Regions from separate parts of the Homo sapiens genome. Here region 2 is linked to region 1. Evidence: promoter capture Hi-C in human tissues and cell types (Jung and others, 2019). All regions are on one chromosome and are shown on one strand. The core of a region is centred on a gene start or on the middle of the fragment in contact, and the rest is flanking DNA. Distances in the headings are between cores, read along the strand shown. Region 1 holds the start of TMC1 (transmembrane channel like 1). Region 2 overlaps TMC1 (transmembrane channel like 1).

Region 1 (5,285 bases), core at 1,544-4,043:
ATCAGGCACTATGGTAAATACTAAAAAGACACTGATCCTGTTTTTCAGGCTCAAAGGAAGTCAAAAGAGCTCAGATAAATTGATGACAATATTTACCCTTAAAATTATTTTTTTCCTTTTTGAGACGTTTGGGCAGAATAAAGGCACAAATTTCTACATGCTATTTTCTTTCTCTATTTTCAAGTACTATGCATCTTTTTAAGTGCCCCATTCTAAACCTGAAGAAAAAAACGACATATCTAAGATTCTGCAAAAGCTCAACTGATTTCAGGCTAGGTGAAGAAATAAAAGATGCTACAGTCTATTAACTGTTGGGACCAAGTATAGTGGCAAGTATTTAATGGGCTCCCCAGCACTGACGAGTGAAAATGGATGATGATAACCTCACTGCAAAGGGTAATAGAAGACTGACCTTGGGCTATGAAAAATGTGTTCTGTAGACTTGTGGCTGCAATTTCAGAGCCCATGATGCCCCTTTCTCACTTTATGCTTCAGTAGCAAAGCATTTACCGGCTTTGAGTTCTTTTAATATAATATGCTGTTTCAGGCCTCTATACATTTTTTTTTTATTCTCTGTTCTTAGCCTGGAACAAGTACAGTTGACTCTGAACAAGTCAGGTTTGAACTGCATGGGTCCACTCATATGAAGATTTCTTTCAACGAAAGCTACCCCGAGTGTGCCTGCCTTTCCTGCCTCCCCTTCCACCTCCTGCACCTCTACCATCCCTGCCACCCCTAAGACAGCAAGGCCAGTCTCTTCTCTCTCCCCCTCCTCCTTCAGCCTATTCAACTTGAAGATGACAAGGATGAAGAGCTTTATGATGATCTACTTCCCCTTAATGAACAGTAAATATATTTTTTCTTCCTTACAATTTTCTTAATAGCATTTTCTTTTCTCTAGCTTACCTTATTGTAAGAATACAGTGTATAATACATAAAACATACAAAATATGTGTTAATAAACTGTTTATGTTATTGGTAAAGCATCTGGTCAACAGTAGGCTGTTAGGAAAGTGTGAGGGTAGTCAAAAGTTAAGCTCAGATTTTTGACTACGCAAGGGTCGGCATCCCTAAACCCCAAGTTGTTCAAGGTCAACTATAATTCCCTATTACTCCTCACTCTTCCTCCCTCCTTCCTCCTCTTCTTCCTTATCCCTTCTCCTTCATTTTCCCCACAGGCTAACTGCAACTCAGCCCACTTCATTTCCTAATTTTTCCTCCTCCCTGCATCCCCCCGAGTCTTTGTGAGATGCTCTTCCCTTCACTCCTGCCAGCCCTATGGCATCATGGCATTATCATGGTGTATGGAGAACTTCTGTCTTATCTGTTTCTCCCACTAACCCAGTGGTTTTCAACTGGAGACAATTTTGCTCCTCAGGGGACATTTGGAAAAGTCTGGAGACATTTTTAATTGTCACTTCTGGGGAAGGGGGTTGATACTGTCATCTACTGAGTAGAAGCCAAGGATGCTGCTAAACATCCTACAGTGCACAGGACAGCCCCTCACAAAAAAGGATTATCAGGCCCCAAAGGCCAATAGTGCTAAGGTTGAGAAACTGCACTAGGCTGAGTTCCTTTAAAATATGACCCTATTCAGCGCTGTTCCAGCAGCTCCACAGACAGTGTCCAGTGCCCAGTAGGAAGGAATCCAAACAGTTTTAATATTACATTTGAAATTTTAATTGAAAAACTCTTCTGACAGCTGTATGTTATAACTAATAAGCAATATGACCACATACCACAATTCAAAGGAAAACCAATATCCAGAGGTAAAGGTGGCTTACACCCATCAGTCTTTGACACTTCCTCCTATCTAGTTCTCTGTATTTCTTCCCTTTCTCCTTTTCTCTTGTCCCTGTGCTCACTGTCCCCCTTTACTGTCATGTTTGTTTGAATTCCACTTCAAAATGGGAATTTGAACAGAGTGCAATAAATTGTCCCACATTTGTTTATTTTAGGAAATCATTGCATTTAATTTTAACATTTAAACATATCAATTAGGCCAGGTGCGGTGGCTCACGCCTGTAATCCCAGCACTTTGGGAGGCTGAGGCGGGCGGATCACGAGGTCAGGAAATCGAGACCATCCTGGCTAACACGGCGAAACCCCGTCTCTACTAAAAATACAAAAAATTAGCCGGGCGTGATGGCGGGCGCCTGTAGTCCCAGCTACTTGGGGAGCCGAGATCGCGCCACTGCACTCCAGCCTGGGAGACAGAGCAAGACTCCGTCTCAAAAAAAAAAAAACTTATCAATTACTGGGTGACATGCTGTGCACTGCAAGAAAAACAAAGATAAATAGGAAACTGGGACTATCCTAACTGGGGGAGATTTCTGTAGCAGTAGAAAAGTAGAGGAAATATAGTTTTATTTCACTAATGTGATTAGGGAATATCTCATGGAGAAAGTCTTCGATTTAGGTCTTCACACATGTTTCATAAAGAATGTTAACACACCACACATAGGTAATAATGTTGTCTTTCCTTACCTGGCATCATTATGAGGGCCACTTTTTGGGGCAATGATTCCTAAATTTCAGCAACTCCTGGAGGGCTTGTGAAAGAAAGCACAGATTGCTGGGTTCTGCCCTCATAGTTTCTGAGGCAGTAGGTCTTCGGTGAAATCAGAAAACTGGTGTTTCTTTTTTCTTTTTTTTTTTGTGACGGAGTCTTGCTCTGTCACCCAGGCTGGAGCGCAATGGCGTGATTTCAGCTCACTGCAACCTCCGCCTTCCGGGTTCAAGCGATTCTCCCGCCTCAGCCTCTGAGTAGATGGGAAACAGTCGCGCGCCATCATGTTTTTGTAGAGGCGGGGTTTCACTCTATTGGCCAGGCTGATCTTGAACTCCTGACCTCAGGTGATCCGCCCACCTCAACCTCCTGAAGTGCTGGGGTTATAGGCGTGAGCCACGGCGCCTGTTTGTTTTTTTTTTTCTAATCAGAGGTTTTGCTCTTGTCGCCCAGGCTGGAGTGCAATGGTGTGATCTTGTCTCACTGCAACTTCTGCCTCCCAGGTTCAAGTGATTCTCCTGCCTCAGCCTCCCAAGTAACTGTGATTTCAGGTGCCCGCCACTACACCCGGCTAATTTTTGTATTTTTAGTAGAGGCGGGGTTTTGCCATGTTGGCCAGGCTGGTCTCAAAACTCCTGACCTCAGGAGTTCGGCCTCCGAAAGTGCTGGGATTACAGGCATGAGCCACTGTGCCCGGCCTAGAAAACTGGTGTTTCCAACAAGTCCTTTGGTGCTGCTGGTGCTACTGCGGGCCTTCTGAGGAGACTTTGAGAACCGCTGCATCAGGATTATCAGCCTGGTAACTCCTGGCCGAAGAAATGCACACCCTTCATTTGGCTAAAAGAAAGAATTTCCAATATTCATAAAGAAAACACAACTTGTGGGTTCTCCAAGCAGGAGAGGAAAAATCATGTTCCAGTCTATTCCTGTAACTAATGAAGGGCTCAGGTTTCAAAGGTAAGTTAATTGTCAGACCCACTTTATTGTACCCAGTGTCCTTGGGAAACATAATTATTTATTGGAAATATGTCACAACTAACATAAGTCTTAAAAATTTGTTAAATTAGAAACAAAATATTGTATTTGCTGATATGTTAAAACATAAGGGCCTAACATTTAGAATTGCACTTCTCATACTCACAACATGTACTCAAAATGCTGTTAACATCTACTTTGATGATTGTTTTGGGTTTACTTGAATCTAATGTTTCCATTTAATAATTCCTTTTTTTTCCCCTTTCCTTTTTTCAATCAATCCTTTCTCTTTTCTATGTTCTATATTCATGTTATCTTAGAATTCCATTTTGGCCTTCTAGGTTCTTTACTTCTTCCTCCAGCCTGTCATTTTCATGTCTTCAGTGATTTCTCAGACTTCTCACAGAAAGTTAACCATTTTTGTGCATCTTGAAACTTTTAACCTTTGATTTGAAGATAAATGCTAATAAATAAATATAATTCTTATGAATACATTATGCACAATGTTAAATTCAAAATGACTGACATGTTTCATGCTGTGTGCTATAGATATGCTAAACTTCATTTCAAACAGACTAAATAAAACACATGGAACTACATGCACTTTTTGTGAACAGCATCTTCATACCTGTTGTTTGTTAATGTCAGCAATTATAAGCTTATAGGTGTGTTTTTCAAGTGATCACTGAAAATAAATGTAGTATGTCTATTGGCAGAACCACTCACACCTACTAATTATTTGAAAAACATGCTCAAACACACAGTAGTGCCTTCTAGAGAAAGCATAGTATAGTCCTCCCTCATTTCCAAGGACAAGAATTCATTTCTTTAAGCTTTCTTCACGAAAGAATGCAATAAAAGAGGAGGAAACTGGGACTTGATTGAAGAAATATCTCTACTGGGAGCATGAACTAATAATGAGTGACTCTAAGAAATCTCTCACAGGCATTTTTATTTTTGGCTTTTGTTGTTGTTGTTTGGTTGGTTTTCATTTGTTTTTTATTTTTATTTTTTATTTTATTTTTATTTTTTGAGGCAGAGTCTCGCTCTGTCACCCAGGCCAGAATGCAGTAGCACTGTCGTGGGTCACTGCAGTCTTTGCCTCCCAGGTTCAAGTGATTCTCCTGCCCCAGCCTCCTGAGTAGCTGGGATTACAGGCACCTGCCATCATGCCCAGCTAATTTTTGTATTTTTGTAGAGACGGGGTTTCACCATGTTGACCAGGCTGGTCTTCAACTCCTGACCTCACGTGATCTGCCTGCCTCAGACTCCCAGCTGTTTTTTTATTTTTTAATTTTAATTTCATTTTTTATTTTTTGGGGGACAGGGTCTCACTCTGTCACTCAGATTGGAGTGCAGTGGTGTGATCTCAGCTCACCGCAACCTCCGCCTCCTGGGTTCAAGCGATTCTCCTGCCTCAGTCTCACGAGTAGCTGGGATTACAAGTACACACCACTACCGCCCAGCTAATTTTTGTATTTTTATTAGAGATGGGGTTTCACCATGTTAGCCAGACTGGTCTTGAACTCCTGACCTCAAGTGAGCCACCCACCTCAGCCTCCCAAAGTGCTGGGATTACAGGCGTGAGCCACCGCGCCCAACCTGTTTTTTCTTTTTACCGTCACTAAAACAAAGGCAGCACATGCAATTGTCAGTGCCATTTGGCATCTTAAATTAAGACTGAAGACTGCAAAATCCATTTCCTGTTTTCATCCCCTGCTTAATATGAATTTTTCAAAAGACCACTTCCCCTAAGTTACAATAAGAAAATTAGAAATTAATTTGCTTTATCACAAATGGC
Region 2 (5,285 bases), core at 1,522-4,021, 34 kb before region 1:
TCCCTGTGACCCTGGAATCTCAAAAACAATGTAATTGAAATTATTTAACAAACTCATTACTCTATGCTTAGCTACTGAGCTGGGCCACCAAGATGCTAGTGTCCCATGGGAAAGGGAAGAGATTTAACTCACATTTGGTTGGGCTGAGGTAAAGTAAGGAGAGTGATTGGGAATTTTGTTTATGTAAAAGTGTTGCATTTTAATTTAATTTTTAATAGATTTTCCCATGTCTTCATTTATGGAGACAGAAAGAGAGAGAGAGAGAGAAAGAGAGAAAGAGAGAGAGAGAGAGAAATGTTCACCAAATACACAGGCAAATTAGAAATATTTCCTATGTCTTCAATTTGGACAATTATCTTCACTGAAGAAGCATTTTTATTTTATTCCTGGCTGCCCTTACAGTGCCAGGGAAGCCTCTTTCTGTGAATATACTCTGATATCTCACTTATTAAAATAATTGACTCCCAGGAACAATTTCTCATGGTCTGAAGCCTTCCACACTGACCCAGCTGTGGAGGCCACAGAATAAAAGACATCCACTTGGGCTCCAGGTATTGCTCAATGACAATACAAATCAATGAGAAACTAAACAGCTGTTTTTCCTCTTTAGCCTCCCTCACACCAAAACACCGGAAGACTTGAGTGAGCAGATCAATGCCACAGGCAAATGACTCAGTGAAAATCTTGAATGTTTGCTAAGATCTCCTGCAGCATCCCAGGTCAAAGAGGCTGACTCAGAGGGCCCTACTCCCACTGCTGTCCCTGACACACATTGGAGAGGCCTTGAGACATGCTGCCTCTGAAGTCGGTATCATGTGACTCACAACCTAGATCTGGGGGACATGGCTTTAGTGGTGGTGGTGTTTGCCTTTCAGTTCTTAAGAATTTTTTTTTAACAGTTGTTGTCATTTCTTTGTTTAATGATTGTAAAATAAGTGCTCAATATTAAACATTTGGAAAGAACAGAAAGTTTTTTAGAACAGTAGAGAAACAATTATCATAATCCCATCCAGAAGTAATCACTGTAAACATTTGAGTCATTTCTGTTTTTTTGTTTGTTTGTTTTTTTGAGAGTCTCACTCTGTCACCCAGGCTGGAGTGCAGTGGCATGATCTTAGCTCACTGCAATCTTTGCCCCCCGGGTTCAAGCGATTCTCCTGCCTTGGCCTTCTGAATAGCTGGGATTACAGGTGTGGGCCACCACGCCCGGCTATTGTTTGTATTTTTAGTAGAGAAGAGGTTTCACCATGTTGGCCAGGCTGGTCTCAAGCTACTGGCCTCAGGTGATCCACTCGCCTCAGCCTCCCAAAGTGCTGGGATGATAGGCATGAGCCAAGCCACCTGTCCTGTCATTTCTTTTAGACCAGCGTTTCTCAACCTCAAAAAACAATTGACATTTTGGACTGTTTAATGCTGTCAGGGGCTGTCCTGTGCACTGCAGGATGTTCAGCAGCATCCCTGGCCTCTACGTATTAGATGCCAATAGCACTTCACTCCCCAACCCCAGATGTGACAACCAAAAATGTCCCCAGCCATTGTCAAATGTCCCCTTGGAGGTGAAATTGCCCTGCTCAAGAACCAATTTTTTTGTTTGTTTGTTTGTTTGTTTGTTTCCAAGACAGAGTCTCGCTCTATCTCCCAGGCTAGAGTGCAGTGGCGGGATCTGGCTCACTGCAACCTCCGCCTCCCAGGTTCAAGTGATTCTCCTGCTTCGGCCTCCCGAGTAGCTGGGATTACAGGCACGCACCACCATACCTGGCTAATTTTTTTTGTATTTTCAGTAGAAATGGGGTTTCACGATGTTGGCCATGCTGGTTTCAAACTCCTGATCTCAAGTGATCCACCCGTCTCGGCCTCCCAAAGTGCTGGGATTACAGGCATGAGCCACTATGTCCGTCTGAGAACCAATGTTTTAGAGAGTATGCTTTTGGCAAGCAGGAGTGTCTACTTTAGATTTATGTGTGGAAATTTGTGAGACGTTCCTAAGGAGTAAAAGTTGAAGCTTTAATTTCACAAGTAAGCCAGGCACAGTGACTCACGCCTGTAATCCCAGCACTTTGGGCAGCCGAGGAAGGTGGATCACCTGAGGTCAGGAGTTCAAGACCAGCCTGGCCAACACGGTGAAACCCCATCTCTACTAAAAATACAAAAATTATCTGGGTGTGATGGCAGGTTCCTGTAATCCCAGCTACTCAGGAGGCTGAGGCAGGAGAATCCCTTGAACCCAGAAGGCGAAGGTTGCAGTGAGCTGAGATCGCACCATTGTACTCCAGTCTGGCTAACCAAAGCGAAACTCCGTCTCAAAAAAAAAAAAAAATTCACGGGTGAAAAGGCTAACAGAAAGGTGTTTTGCAGAAGGTCACCAAGTGGATTAGGGATTAGGCCTGCCTAGCTTCTGATTTACTGATATTTCCACTCTTCTCTGTGCAACTTTTTTTTTTTTTTTTTTTTTTTTTTTTTTTGCCTTAGTCATAGATTGGTTTTCCTGGGTAACATCATTTAAGAGTTAAGTCCAGGCCAGGTGCAGTGGCTCATGCCTCTAATCCCAGCACTTTGGGTGGTCAAGGTGGGTGGATCACAAGGTCAGGAGTTTGAGACCAGCCTGGGGAATATGGTGAAACCCCATCTCTACTAAAAATACAAAAAAATTAGCCAGGCGTGGCAGCACATGCCTGTAATCCCAGCTACTCGGGAGGCTGAGGCAGGAGAATTGCTTGAATCTGGGAGGCAGAGGTTGCAGTGAGCCAAGATTGCGCCACTGCACTCCAGCATGGGTGACAGAGCAAGACTCCGTCTCAAAAAAAAAGAGTTAAGTCCAGAGGCAAAAGGACCCAAGGAAGCAGTTACTAACATATTCCACTTATTCGCATGGGATTTCTCCTACCATCCACATCATCTGGGTGTGGTGAAAACAAATGAGATAATATCACAAAGAAATCTGTGAGTATGGGCCGGGCGCAGTATCTCACGCCTGTAATCCCAGCACTTTGGGAGGCCAAGGAGGGAGGGTCACGAGGTCAAGAGATCAAGACCATCCTGGCTAACACAGTGAAATCCCATCTCTACTAAAATACACAAAATTATTAGCTAGGCACGGTGGTAGTCCCATCTACTTGGGAGGCTGAGGCAGGAGAATCACTTGAACCCGGGAGATGGAGGTTGCTGTGAGCGGAGAACGTGCAATTGCACTCCAGCCTGGGTGACAAGAGCAAAACTCTGTCTCAAAAAAAAAAAAAAAAAAACAGAATCAAAACTCAGAATTCAGGTCAGGTGCTTTGGCTGTAACTCCAGCACTTTGGGAGGCCGAGGCGGGTGGATCACTTGAGGTCAGAAATTTGATACTACCCTGTCCAACATGGTGAAACCCCTTCTCTACTGAAAATACAAAAGTTAGCCAGGCATGGTGGCACATGCCTGTAATCCCAGCTACTCAGAAGACTGAGGCAGGAGAATCACTTGAACCTGGGCAGCAGAGATTGCAGTGAGCTGAGATTGTGCCATCGCACTTTGGCCTGGGCAGCAGAGTGAGACTCCATCTCAAAAAATAATAATAATAATAATTTCAGAATTCAAAAATATTTAGGAATAAAGGAGCTGAGTAAATTTCAGGAATTTTCTACATTCTTTACTCTCTGGAGACTTTAACTGTCTTTATAGAATATGGAATGTTAGAAAGTAAGAAAGCCCCTTATAAATCACACGATCCAACCCCCTTATTTTACAGATGAGAAAGTGGCATCCACAAAGTCAGATACCAAAGTCCTTTAAGCTTGTGAATGAATGGTTGAAACCAGCTTCCCTGACTTTCACTGCTGAAACTATTCTGTCATGTCCCATTGCTTCTCAGTGCACTGTTACTCTATTACTCTCCTCTAAAATACAAAGGTCAAGCTAGAAACCAGGAAGAGAGAGTAAAATGCTAAGATCAAGATATCACCAAGAAAAAAACACATAGTTTTGCCCTGGTATTTCCAGCGTTCTGTCTTTTGACGAGAAATAACCACTCCTGTTAAAAGTATGCAAATATGTAACTGGAAAGAATTCAGGTCCACATGGTCAACATTTTAAAACCTTGGCTAACTTGGACCTTAGCCCTCTGGAATGCTCAGTAAGCTGGAACAACGCTGGATCTAGAAGTAGCCTGGGGCAAAAATTTAAGGAAAAAATGTTTAACTTGAAAAGTATTTCAGTGGGAAAGAATTGCCCTTAATTATTCAGCAATAAACGATCACAGCTAAGAAAAGCTAAAGACCAAACAGAAGACAACACCCAATAGAATAAATCCGTCAGTGCTTCTGACTGGGGAAAAAAAAGGCACTAATGCTTATAAAAATACCAAGATTTTGAAGAATATGAAGTCAAGAGTGTGTATGCTATCAATCATGAAGAAATATTGTTAGATGCTTTGTGCTCTGTTTGAGAAAGTGGAGCAATTGTGAGTGAATTTATTAAAGGATTTTCATTGGTATAAGTTAAAAGGAATAGTCAGGCATAAAATTCAGCTGGTTTGAAAACTGAATGTGTTTTCAGATATAATAGTCGTAGGGAGACGCCAGTACTTAGGCAGTTTCAAGAAAAATGCCTGGAAAGGATAAATTGAGAAAGGATGAATTGAGATGGCTCCATATAGAACTGGTGGCATGATCTCTAATCATTATGTGTCTAGGACCCCAGAAATCCAATTACTTTTAAGACAAAATTCTAAATGATGATAGCCATAGTAGTTTTTATACATTGATTTGTCCACTTCTCACCTGTTAATACAGAAGAGATAAATTTAAAATAAGCCTTTAAAATGTCCAAGCTAGGAGAAAAAAAAATCAGCAAAAGTACAGGCAAACTCTGATAAAATATGAGCATACTACTACAGTATAATTCTGCTTTCTCTTCTGTGTCATGCTTTGCTTTATTCCTTTTTGGTTCTTCCAAAATCTAGCAGTAGAGAAGAGTAGAACAGCTACAACTGGGTTACCTCACAAATAATTCAGTCTCTTTTTAAATAGAGTAAAAGTTAAGGAGATATTTAACTTTACATTCAGTTTTCTTCATCTGGAGATGGTTAAAATGGCAAATAATAATAATAATAACAACATGGAAACTGATATGTGAATATACTTTGTATCTTTGATCTTTATACTTACATTTAAAAATATACAGAATTGGAGCCAGGCTTGGTGACTCACGCCTATAATCCCAGCACTTTGTGAAGCAGAGGCCGGTGGATCACCTGAGGTTGGGAGTTCGAGACCAGCCTGACCAACATGGAGAAACCCCGTCTCTACTAA

The links. The method cuts DNA at HindIII sites, captures the fragments that hold promoters and counts their contacts. A contact is called where the count stands out against the background at its distance.
Region 2: a fragment that was not itself captured here is called in contact with the fragment with the promoter of TMC1 in region 1 in 2 of the 25 tissues and cell types used here (H1 embryonic stem cells and liver).

Annotation. Positions count from the first base shown.
Region 1 is chr9:72,519,116-72,524,400 of GRCh38, reverse strand. TMC1 (transmembrane channel like 1) reads right to left here and starts at 2,793. Exons shown (of 24, transcript NM_138691.3): 1 at 2,488-2,793. It overlaps LOC101927234 (a long non-coding RNA gene), which reads left to right. Exons shown (of 3, transcript XR_001746721.3): 3 at 584-983. The HindIII fragment of the contact is 10,357 bases long and covers 1-5,285 here.
Region 2 is chr9:72,553,151-72,558,435 of GRCh38, reverse strand. The region is part of intron 1 of TMC1 (transmembrane channel like 1); the gene reads right to left. It overlaps LOC101927191 (a long non-coding RNA gene), which reads left to right. Exons shown (of 5, transcript XR_242619.5): 5 at 611-814. Among named protein-coding and RNA genes, the nearest start is that of TMC1, 34 kb to the right of the region's middle. RefSeq lists an enhancer at 1-1,114. The HindIII fragment of the contact is 5,070 bases long and covers 237-5,285 here.